2 separate regions of the Homo sapiens genome follow, and region 2 is linked to region 1. The links are contacts of gene promoters, found by promoter capture Hi-C in human tissues and cell types (Jung and others, 2019). All regions are on one chromosome and are shown on one strand. The core of a region is centred on a gene start or on the middle of the fragment in contact, and the rest is flanking DNA. Distances in the headings are between cores, read along the strand shown. Region 1 holds the start of C8orf76 (chromosome 8 open reading frame 76). Region 2 overlaps TBC1D31 (TBC1 domain family member 31).

Region 1 (5,827 bases), core at 1,427-3,926:
GTTGTTAGTTCTTTTTCTTATACATTTTGGGGTGATTTGCTCCTGTGGCACTGTGAAATGTCTGTGCTAGAGGGTCCTAAGTAATGAGGAGATTCAGAACCTTGAGGAATAAACCTACAAGGACAAGGACCCCAAAGAGATCCTTTTGTTGGAGTTACAGAAAACAAACAAATCATACAGAGCCAAGCAGAAAAGAACGGAAACTTGGGAGCCTCAGATTATAAACACACATCACAAAAGATTAAACTCATCTTCATAAACACCACACTAACTTGGTACACTGTTATTTACATATGCCATAACTGATAAAACAAGAGCCCACTTCAAGCACCATATGTTGAATTCTACCTGATACTCTTGTCGTCTGTAGGCCAGGTCTCCTTTGAATTTCTTGAGAGTCAGCACTTCAACATCATCACTGCTTTCTGTTTCTTCATAAAACCACTTGAAATCATGAAAATAGCCTATTACAGAGTGAGCTATGCTTTTCCACCTCATATTCAGAAGCAATTTCCCATAATATAATTGATTAAACGTCAAAAAAAGACTTCTTCAAGAGTCTGGCCAGGTTAGTCTTGAACTCCTGAGCACAAGTGATCCTGCCTCTGCCCACCTTGGCCTCCCAAAGTGCTGGGATTACAGGTGTGAGCCACCGCACCCAGCCCACATTGGTTCTTTAAAATGAGACATGCTTTCTTGTAGATAAACTTTAGTGTGACTGGAATAGGGATTGACAATTCTTTACTGAAAGGACATAGGAAAGAAGAATTATAGATATGGTGCTATTATGAAAATGTCATAATGGCAAAAAACTAGAATTTCAGCAAAGGAGACAGAAATTAAGGCTAGAAGGAGGCTCCAATGCAACCAAATACCAAAAACCTGTAGGAGAGAAGTCTGAGGAAATGCCCATCTAGGATACTTTATTTGCTTTTCTACTGATTTAAATCCTATGGATAAAAAGGAAAGTGAGACTGAGATTGCTTGACTATTGAATAAATAACGTAGGGAAAGGCAGTGGCTTACACCTGTAATCCCAGCAATTTGGGAGGCCGAGGCGGGCAGATCACTTGAGGTTAGGAGTTTGAGACCAGCCTGGCTAACAACAGTAGAGAAACCCTGTCTCTACTAAAAATACAAAATTAGGCCGGCATGGTGGCACACGTCTGTAATCCCAGCTAGCTGGGAGGCTGAGGCAGGAGAATCGCTTTAACCCGGGAGGTGGAGGTTGGGGTGACCCGAGATCGCGCCACTGCACTCCAGCATGGGCAACAAACTCCACCTCAAAAAAAAAAAAAAGAAAAGAAAAAAATCACTTCATTTTAGAATTTATATTAAATTCTATGCACCTGTACAGCACATCAGATCTGACAAAGTATTTTCATATACATTATCTCATTTCACTCCCACGATAACTCTGTGAGCCAGCATGTATTATTTTTCTGAAGGGACAAATAAGGAGCTGACACCTTCAAGGCAAGTGGTTAAAGCCAACACTGGAATTCAAGAGTCCTATCTCATAACCAGAGTTTTTTTAATGTTCTGCCACATGATTTCCAAGCCCAATCCCTGTTTTGAGTCTACATGATCCAGGGCTGAAGGTAACTTTGAAAGATCGTATGTGATAAGGAGAAAATGCAACTGAAATAACCAAAAACACAATTCAGTAATTATCGAGTGCCTGGCATCTTGTCAGTACAATTGTGAGGAACGAATGAGACAGTATATGCGAAGGAACCCACCACAGTGCCCGGAACACTTCCGTATTTTCCATAAATATTAGTTTTGACTGATGAACTATTTACACTCATGAAAGAATAGGAAGTAATACTCTACTAATTCAAAAATATTCGCGGAGTCACTATTATTAATAAAAACTGTTAGGCACTGCCAAGGGCATCAAGAACCCATGCTGGTGCGATCATTTAGCACTCCGGGTCTCAGGACTTTGTGGGAATACTGACAAGTGCTTTAAGTAGAAGCTAAATAGAGGGAAGGGGGCCAAAGACAAAAATATTTGGCTGGAAGACGAAATCAGAAAAGACTTCCTAGAGGAGATGACATTTAAGATGTGCCTTGAAAAACGGATATAACTGAAGGACTTTAACCATCAGCGCGGGGTTGGTACGGGCAGGGGGAGCTCGCCGAAGAGGGAGGGGAGAGTGGGTTTGCCGGAGGTCACCGTTTTGGGAGGCCTGACTGCCCAGCTGTAAGAGCAGTGAAGACAAACGGGAGGTACCGGAGATTGCAGGGCAGGGGCGTTGAGACCAGCCGGCAGCAGCCAGGCCGGCCAAATGCCAAGTGGGAGTCAAGCCGCTTACAACGCGGGGATTCTCGCCCATGGACCCGGAATGGGGCCTGGGAAAGCCGCTTCCCCGTGGAGGAGGAGGGACGGCGGGGGACGCGGCGGGCGCTGGAGCCTGCCAGGGTTTGCGTTCGCGCGGACGGAGGGGCCGAGGCCGGGGCCGGGGCCCCGCGGAGGGCGAGGCCTGGGGCCCGGGATAAGGCGAAGAGGCCCCAGCTTCTCACCTGCGGCTCGCAGAGCTTGGCGCAGTAGGACGCGGGCGGTCCTGACCGCCGCTCCGGCCTCTCCTCGAACACCGAGTCCTCGAACTCGCCGCCGAACAACCAGCACCCGGAATCCATCTCGCGCCCGCGGCGGGGGCAACGAGGAAGCGGGGCCCGCCGGAAAAGGCGGGGCTTCCACGGCCCAGAGCGCGGCACGCTGGGACTTGTAGTCTTTGAGGGCGACGCGGGGACGTGGCCGCTGCTGGTTGGGAGTAGTGGTTGAGCTGAGATGATTATCTGACCCACTAACTGACCGAACCCCAGGACGGAGGTTTTGACTTCTCTGTGTCAGGAGATGGACAGAATGATCCTTACCTGCACGCATCAAAAAGCACGCTGGCCCCAGAGTAGCTGTTTAAAACTCGCAGGTACCTTTTTAAAAATTAAAATAAGAGGCCGGGCGCGGTGGCTCAAGCCTGTAATCCCAGCACTTTGGGAGGCCAAGGTGGGCGGATCACTTGAGGTCGGGAGTTCGAGACCAGCCTGACCAACATTGAGTAACCAGGTCTGTACTGAAAATACAAAAATTAGCCGGCCGTAGTGGCGCGCGCCTGTAATCCCAGCTACTCGGTAGGCTGAGGCAGGAGAATCGCTTGAACCCGGGAGGCGGAGGTTGCGGTGAGCCAAGATCGCATCATTGCACTCCAGCCTAGGCAACAAGAGTGAAACTTCGTCTCAAAATAAAAAATAAAATAAAATAAAATAAATAAAATAATTTCGAGACAGGGTCTCGCTCTGTCGCCCAGGTTGGAGTGCAGTGGTGAGATCATGGCTCACTGCAGCCTCGAACTCCCAGACTCAACCTATCATCCCGCCTCAGTCCCCCAAGTAGCTGGGGCTACAGGCGCGCGCCACCATGACCGTCTAACTTGTGTATTTTTTGTGGAGACTGGGTTTCCCTACGTTGCCCAGGCTGGTCTCGAACCTGATCTCAAGCGATCCGCCCACCTCGTTCTCCCAAAGTGCTGGGATTATAGGCGTGAGCCACTAAGCCCGGTGCAAGTACCAATTGTCAACCACTGTGCATTCCCGTCACTGTGTTAAGCACATTTTTTCTTTTCGGCTAACAACCACCTTATGAAAGCCAAAGTGATTCCCATTTTGCAAATCCTATTTTGAAGATATTGGAGTTTGGAGAGGTTAAGTAACTTGTTAAGTTTCGGTCATTATGTGGCTGAAACTTGGGAAATACAGAAATGAATGCGTACTCTCCGTGCTTCCGGACAAGAGACACTACCACCAATAACAAAGACCGGAGTCATTCACGCATTTATGAAAGAAAAGACACAGAAATATACCGTGGGAGGCTAGATCAGGGAGCATTCATTCGACCTGGAGAACACCAAATCTCAAAATTCTAAGACTAACATTTACTACAATTCTTATACTTTTAAGATATTTCTTGACTCTAGAAAGTAAAGATTGTTGACAAAATGCTGGCCAATACTGTACAGCACAATATTGTGCCATATTACACAGTAGGAAATAAACATAAAGGTTTTCCCCGATTTTTTTCCTGTTCCTCTTCACTCTCACCAGTTTCTCTTCCACCATTTATCTGTCTTCCAGGTTTCTTTTTTAAAATTTTATCTGTTTATTTATTTCTGAGACAGGGTCTCGCTCTGTCGCCCAGGCTGGGGTGCAGAGGCGCAATTTCGGCTCACTGCGTCCTCAACCTCCTTGGCTCAAGCCATCCTCCCACCTCAGCCTCCCGCGGGCCACCACACACTGCTACTTTTTTGTATTTTCAGTAGAGAGGGGTTCTTTCATGTTGACCAGGTTCAGCGTTCTTTCTTCAACCCAACTTTTTCCTCCACAAACTCACCTAATCCACTCCCCCAGGTTTCAGAATCCATCTCTCTGCTAATTATTGCCAAAATCTAGAACCAGCTCATTTATCCAGCAGCCTCAGGTGGGAGGCTCCAGCTGAACAGCCTCCAGGCATTAGTTACTGATGAATGAATTCATCAAGATCCACTTAAGAACATTTTTCTGGCCGGGAGTGGTGGCTCACGCCTGTAATCCCAGCACTTTGGGAGGCCAAGGCTGGTGGATCACCTGAGGTCGGGAGTTCGAGACCAGCCTGGCCAACATGGAGAAACCCCATCTCTACTAAAAATACAAAATTAGCAGTGTGTGGTGGTGCATGCCTGTAATCCCAGCTACTTGGGAGGCTGAGGCAGGAGAATCCCGTGAACTTGGGGGGCGGAGGTTGCGGGAGCTGAGATCACACCATTGCACTCCAGCCTGGGCAACAAGAGCGAAACTCCGCCTCAAAAAAAAAAAAATTTTTTTTTCTGCTGAAACGGTCAGGAAGTGTTAGGGTGCTTATGGATAAAAGGTAGTTATTTGCCCTTTAGACTCAGGATTCCTGGGCTCGGGTGTTTCCAGCCTTTTTACCACTAATGACCCTTTCAGTTTCTCCCTGAAAGTTGTGGAGGATTTCTATATAAAATAAAACTGCATTTATTAGCTAATAATTATTTTTCCTTTAAAAAATAGAATCCAGATCCTATATAACAGCCAATCCAAACTTCTACCCAGCCTGAGTCTACTGGCATGGCCTCATTGTACATTAGAATTCCACTTGAAAGCAAAGCACCAGCTCTTAGGGCCCTGGGAAGCCTGAAGAAAGGTAAAATATGATTAGCATCGGACCTCTGGCAATAATGAAAACACTTCAAAGACTCCTATCACTACTGAGGACCAGGGGTCTGGGACCCCAAGTTACACACCACTGCCTCATTTGATAGAGAGGCGCTAGGGTAATGTCATTTTTCAAAAGTAAACCAATAAAATAGAAGGGTATTATATGCTCTGTGACTGTTAAATCCACCTTATACACTAAGGAAATGCCAAGTGTTAGGCAGTGTTAGGAAACTGGAATTCTGCAAGTATCCAAAATTGTGTGGTTGTGATTAAAACCTGTTTCTGTAGAATTTTATCTATAAAAATCTGATTTTTGATTGAGGTGACTGATTGAGTTCCCCATCACAAGGTAACCAGCACCTCCTCCAGGCAGCCCTCCTTCTTTCCTGTAATTCTTCCATGCTTCTATCCATCCACGGTGGCATTTAGCACTCTGTGGACTGTTGGAGGTTAGAGGTGGTGTCTTTTTCACTCTTGTCAACTCAGCCCCCAGTCAGGGATTGGCCCAGACCACCGCAATAAATGTGTTTTTTTGATTTATGGAGATCCAAATCCTGTTGAATGGATGGGTGAATGGGTAAATGAAAGAAAGGAGCCGGGCAAGGTGGCT
Region 2 (5,827 bases), core at 1,744-4,243, 110 kb before region 1:
CTTCATGATCCTGTGATACATTAATTTGGATCTTCCAGCAAAACAAGATAATGTGGAAACTTTTTAGATATTTTTAAAGAAGCAAGCTAATTTATTTTCAAAGGCTAATTTATAATTTATTTTGGATTTTGAAGAAAAAAAAAATCCAAGCAGAGTTTGTTCCATTGTTGAAGCATTCTTTTTCTATTGTAAGAAAAGCCTTCATTTTTTAATTTTATGTCAGAATTTCTTATGATTGTGAAACTCTTACATTTTTTAAATAAATTGTCTTTGTTGTAAAACTTGAGTAAAGAAAAGCTTTAATGAATTTGCAAAAAAATATATATTCTTAAAGATAGATACACTTTTTTTAAATTCTTGTTTTAATTCTACCTCATAATTGCTTTGTCAGGTAAATCTCGATTTAAACACCAAGTTTTCTTACAGTTTTTTTTTCACCATCGGAATAACCTGGATATAAATGTTGTGATTAGACAAGTTTATCATCTCATGGAGACCACGCCTACTGACATTCATCCAGACAGCATGCTTAATGTTTTTGTTGCACTGACAAAAGGGCAGTATCCAGTATTTAATCAATATCCAAAGTTTATTGTGGACTATCAAACACAGGAACGAGAAAGAATAAGGAATGATGAATTGGATTACTTAAGAGAGAGGTAATTATGGAATAGTTTTTCTTTTTCTGATACAATGAAATATGTTATAAACATAAGAAAGTTTTAATGAAAAATACATTTGGCTGAGCGCGGTGGCTCACGCCTATAGTCCCAGCACTTTGGGAGGCCAAGGCAGGTAGATCACAAGGTCAGGAGTTCGAGACCAGCCTGGCCAACATGGTGAAACCCCGTCTCTACTAAAGATACAAAAAATTAGCCAGGCATGGTGGCACGCCCCTGTAGTCCCAGCTACTCAGGAAGCTGAGGCAGGAGAATCACTTGAACCCAGGAGGAGGAGGTTGCAGTGAGCGGAGATCATGCCATTGCACTCCAGCCTGGGCGACAGAGTGAGACTTCATCTCAAAAAAAAAAAAATGCATTTAAATTATGAGTATTTGTGTAAAATCAGAGTTTGAAGGCTAGAAATATTAAAGATAGTTAATTCTTGCATATGGAAATAAAATAGATTATACATTAATCGGTATACATTTTGTGTTTTGATGATTCTTAGCTTTCTTCTTTGTGTTTTCATAATAATATTACCTACTTAAGGCAGACAGTTGAAGATATGCAAGCTAAAGTCGACCAGCAAAGAGTTGAAGATGAAGCTTGGTACCAGAAACAGGAGCTGCTTCGTAAAGCTGAAGAAACAAGAAGAGAAATGCTCTTACAAGAGGAGGAGAAAATGATACAACAAAGACAGAGGTATGTGTTATCACTTTAAAAAAAAATCTGGACATATAAGTTAGTTGAATAATTTTTATGTTCTTTCATTTTTTCATTTTAGAAACAACATTATATATAGGATTACCCAGCTGTAGCATTTCTATAAAGCAACTATTAAGTTAATAAAAAGAATCTTTATATACCACTTTTCAAAAAAAATTGCTATGTAGTAAAATGTAATTCTGAAGCTATGCTGAATATAATATAGCTTTGCATGGATTAATGTTCCTTGAAGGACATTATTTAGAAACATTATTCTATAGTGGGCAGAAATGCTTTGTAATAGAATGCTAGGTACATCACCTTTAGTAGAGTATAATTTTTTTAATTGTGTTTTAAACATACCTGTGTGACCTGACAGTTGTAACATAGAATGATTATGTCATTACCCATTTAACACTTTGGAGGACAGGGGAATGAGTATTAAATGCGTATTCAAAAGTACGTTAGCTGGGTGTGGTGCCACATACCTATAGTCCCAGCTACTAGGTAGGATCACTTGAGCCCAGGAGGTCAAGGCCAGCCTGGGCAACATAGTGAGACCCTGTCTCTTAAAAAATAAAAAGAAAAAACTTAAAAATAAATACATAAAAGTATGTTAATAAGGTAAAATGTGTAAATTAAGTAAAGTAATGGGATAAACATTGAGACTAAGCCCAATAGTTGGGAAACTCACTTCTGTGTTTATTGATTCCTATTCTTAGATGGAACTTTATGTAACAGATTTATAGTGTGGGTTAAAAGGAATTACTGAACTGAGCCAGTGAGCTTTCTACTAAAATTCTTAAAGCATAAGTATACATCATCTTTGGTAACGGTGGAGCAGTTCTCGCATTCTTCTTTCAAATAAAGGATATCAATTGTATTGAAATGATCAGCATGGCAGACCTGTTATGAAAAAACTAAATCATATTAGGAATTGCTGTATTTGTTCCACTTGATGTATTTTGTATTTAAGGCTAGCTGCTGTGAAAAGAGAGCTGAAAGTAAAGGAAATGCACTTACAAGATGCTGCAAGAAGGCGTTTTCTGAAGCTTCAGCAAGATCAACAGGAAATGGAACTAAGAAGACTGGATGATGAAATTGGGAGAAAGGTTTATTATTCTTAACTTAGTTCTCATACATCATCTCCATTTACTCTCACTTAAATGTAATGAACACCTTCAAATTAAATAATATTCTTAGAGTCCACCATGAATACTAAATAGCCGCTTTAATTTTATTTACTTTTCCCCTCAGCTTTCTCATTCTCTTTTGTATTTCATGAATGGCTAAATATTTAAGAAATGCCAGGAAAATTAGTCAAGTGTCCTTGGTGACTATTTCTCTAAAACTAGAAATATCAGTATCAGTTAGCCATTAAGTTATTTTTTCTTTTCTTTTCTTTTTTTTTTTTTTTTGAGACAGAGTCTTGCTCTGTTGCCCAGGCTGGAGTGCAGTGGCGTGACCTCAGCTCAGTGCAACCTCCGCCTCCCGGGTTCAAGTGATTCTCCTGCCTCAGCCTCCCAAGTAGCTGGGATTACAGGTGCACGCCACCACACCCAGCTAATTTTTGTATTTTTCTTAGAGACGGGATTTCATCATGTTGGCTAGGCTGATCTCAAACTCGTGACCTCAGGTGATCTGCCCACCTTGGCCTCCCAAAGTGCTGGGGTTACAGGCGTGAGCCACCAAGCCCGGCAGTTAATTTTTAATTAGGGGACATATTCTTTTTTCATATAAAAATTATCTGTGGCCAGTATAAAAATAATTTCCAGTACAAAACATACAGAATTAAAAATTGACCTTCTCCATTAGTTCTCATGTCATCCCCAGAGAAACACTATTAAAAAATGGTTAATTGGCTGGGTGCGGTGGCTCATGCCCGTAATCCCAGCACTTTGGGAGGCCGAGGCAGGCAGATCACCTGAGGTCAGGAGTTCGGAACCAGCCTGGCCAACATGGTGAAACCCTGTCTCTACTAAAAATACAAGAATTAGCTGGGCATGGTGGCAGGCGCTTGTAATCCCAGCTACGCAGGAGGCTGAGGCAGGAGAATTGCTTGACCCTGGGAGGTGGATGCTGCAGTGAGCCGAGATCATGCCACTGCACTCCAGCCTGAGCGACAGAGTGAGACTCAGTCTCAAAAAAAAAAAAAAAAAAAAAAAGGTTAATTACATAGACTTTCAGGTATGTTCTATAGATAGAGGAGTAATTATAGTCATGTTTTCCTATATTTATACAAAAATGGGATTATTCTCATTATACATTGTTTTTGTAACCTGCTTTTTAAAATTTCATATGCTGAATATCTTTTCATATTTGTTATATGTGTATCTATTTCTCTTTTTGTGGTTGTATAATATTCCATTGAATTAATAGCTTATTTAATCCTTTGCTATTGGACATTTCGGTTATTTGCAGTGTTTTGCAAATTACAAAACCATGCTACATTGTAAAAGTCTTTGAGTACTTGCACACATACTTTTGTTGAGTAACTTCTAAATTATGACAAATTGTTCTCTAAAAATGAAACAGTTTCAGCTGTTTTAAGTCTGTAAGAGTACCCACTCCCTAGTATAGTCAATTGTACTGCATCAGTCTTAATATTTGCCAAGCAGATAGATGACAAATCGTCTATTTTAATTTGCCTTTTTTTATTGTTAGTGAGGTTAAGTATCTTTTCTGTTACTTATCTTCCATGTGTAGAATTACACATTACATATTTGTATCATTTGTCCATCTTTTTGTCAAGTTAGACTTAACTTTCTGTCAGGTTAGCTTACTTATTTCCAAAAGGCAAGTCAATTGTCCCAACACCATTTGTTGACTATTATCCAAGTCATTTGCCAACTGATGGTTTTTACATATTAAATTCTCTTACATATTTGATCTCCTTCCTCGCTTTTTCTATTCCTAAGCCAGTACCACACTGTTTGAATGACAGTAGCTTTGAAGTGTTTTACCAACTAGGCCTAGTTCTCACTCATTAGTCTTCCTTTTCAGAGTTTTCCTCAGTATTCTCAAATGTTTATCATTCCAAGTAGACTCTAAGAATTGTTTCACTTTTGGAATTCTCACCTCTCCCAATCCTATTGGAATTTTTATTAGGATTACACTGACTTTATGCACTAATTTAGAGTTTCAAGCCTAGTTTTGATAAAATACTAAGTATTTTTTAAGTCTTTTTTTTTTTTTTTTTTTTTTTTTTTTGAGACAGGGTCTCATTCTGTCACCTGGGCTGGAGTACAGTGGTGCGATCCCGGCTCACTGCAACCTCCACCTCCCGGATTCAAGCAATTCTCATGCCTCAGCCTCCTGAGCAGATGGGATTACAGGTGCCTGCCACAACACCCATCTAATTTTTGTATTTTTAGTAGAGACAGGGTTTCACCATGTTGGTCAGGCTGATCTTCAACTCCTGACTTCAAGTGGTCTGCCCACCTTGGCCTCCCAAAGTGCTGGGATTACAGGCACCTGGCCTAAGTCTTTCAAAGTATTTTTAATTCAATAGTATTAGAAATCTATCATCTCTTTATAGCATGATACTTCTTGTTTTGTTTAAAGCTTGTTAATTTTAAATTGGTTTTCAAAATCCAAGATTTCTTTTAATTTTCTCATCTAGTGAATGACATTGATATTTCATTACTGTAGAAAAGTGTATGTTCTTCCCGCAAAGTAAGCTCAGAACTCTGATGTCTTTATTCCAAACCCCTTTGAAACAGGAGGAGGCATTTTTTGGTCCAAGAATTCTATAGACTCCTTTCAGCAACATGATCTGGCCTCCGCCTACCCTTGCAGCCTCCTGTCCTCCCAGCTACCTGTTCTGATGTTGTGCTCTGACCCTGCCAAACTGCAAAAGCTCTTCTCATGGTTCAGACTCTAGCAGGAAAGGCTGCTTGAATCTGAAGTGACAAGTACATGTGACTGTGAACATCTGTTAGCAGCAAGCAAAGCTGATCGGTTTTTGCTGTGGCACATAGCTGTTTGTATCTCTGAAAATTCATAAGCAAAAGAGCTCTGTAATTGAAATTCCTAAAAAGCGTGATTTGCTAGGCCACACCTCTCCTCCACTTCCTGGCATTATTACTGTTCTTGCTTCACACAATCAAGCTTCCCCCAACCTTTGAGCTAGCTCCTTTCCCAATAACCTCTTTAAATTGAACTGGTCCTGGTCCATGTTTCTCTTTTAGTCTTTGGATATATATGTTTGCACATCCAACTGTATTCTCATTTAGTGTTTCTCCTATTTTAGGTATTCGATAGCATGTCTTTTACCATAATGACAATATCTAACATTTCACTTTATATCTAAGATCATTTCTAAGAGTCTCTAGAGAGTTCCATATCCCATATCCAAAGCCTCTAGTATATAGGAATAAAAAGCCTCCAACTAATCAAATTTTGGAAATAGGTGAACTCTAAATTAATTCACTTGGAGCAGAACACATACAGGTTGAACC

Evidence for each region. Contacts are between HindIII fragments. The study calls those that stand out against the background at their distance.
Region 2: a contact is called between a fragment that was not itself captured here and the fragment with the promoter of C8orf76 in region 1, in 3 of the 25 tissues and cell types used here (H1 embryonic stem cells, dorsolateral prefrontal cortex and mesenchymal stem cells).

Annotation. Positions count from the first base shown.
Region 1 is chr8:123,238,701-123,244,527 of GRCh38, forward strand. It overlaps C8orf76 (chromosome 8 open reading frame 76), which reads right to left and starts at 2,677. Exons shown (of 6, transcript NM_032847.3): 1 at 2,530-2,677; 2 at 349-444. The coding sequence starts at 2,646. It overlaps ZHX1-C8orf76 (ZHX1-C8orf76 readthrough), which reads right to left. Exons shown (of 6, transcript NM_001204180.2): 3 at 349-444. RefSeq lists an enhancer at 2,463-2,963 and a silencer at 2,464-2,583. The HindIII fragment of the contact is 18,562 bases long and covers 1-5,827 here.
Region 2 is chr8:123,127,855-123,133,681 of GRCh38, forward strand. It overlaps TBC1D31 (TBC1 domain family member 31), which reads left to right. Exons shown (of 22, transcript NM_145647.4): 14 at 427-659; 15 at 1,212-1,364; 16 at 2,344-2,479. Among named protein-coding and RNA genes, the nearest start is that of TRM-CAT1-1, 27 kb to the right of the region's middle. The HindIII fragment of the contact is 4,422 bases long and covers 783-5,204 here.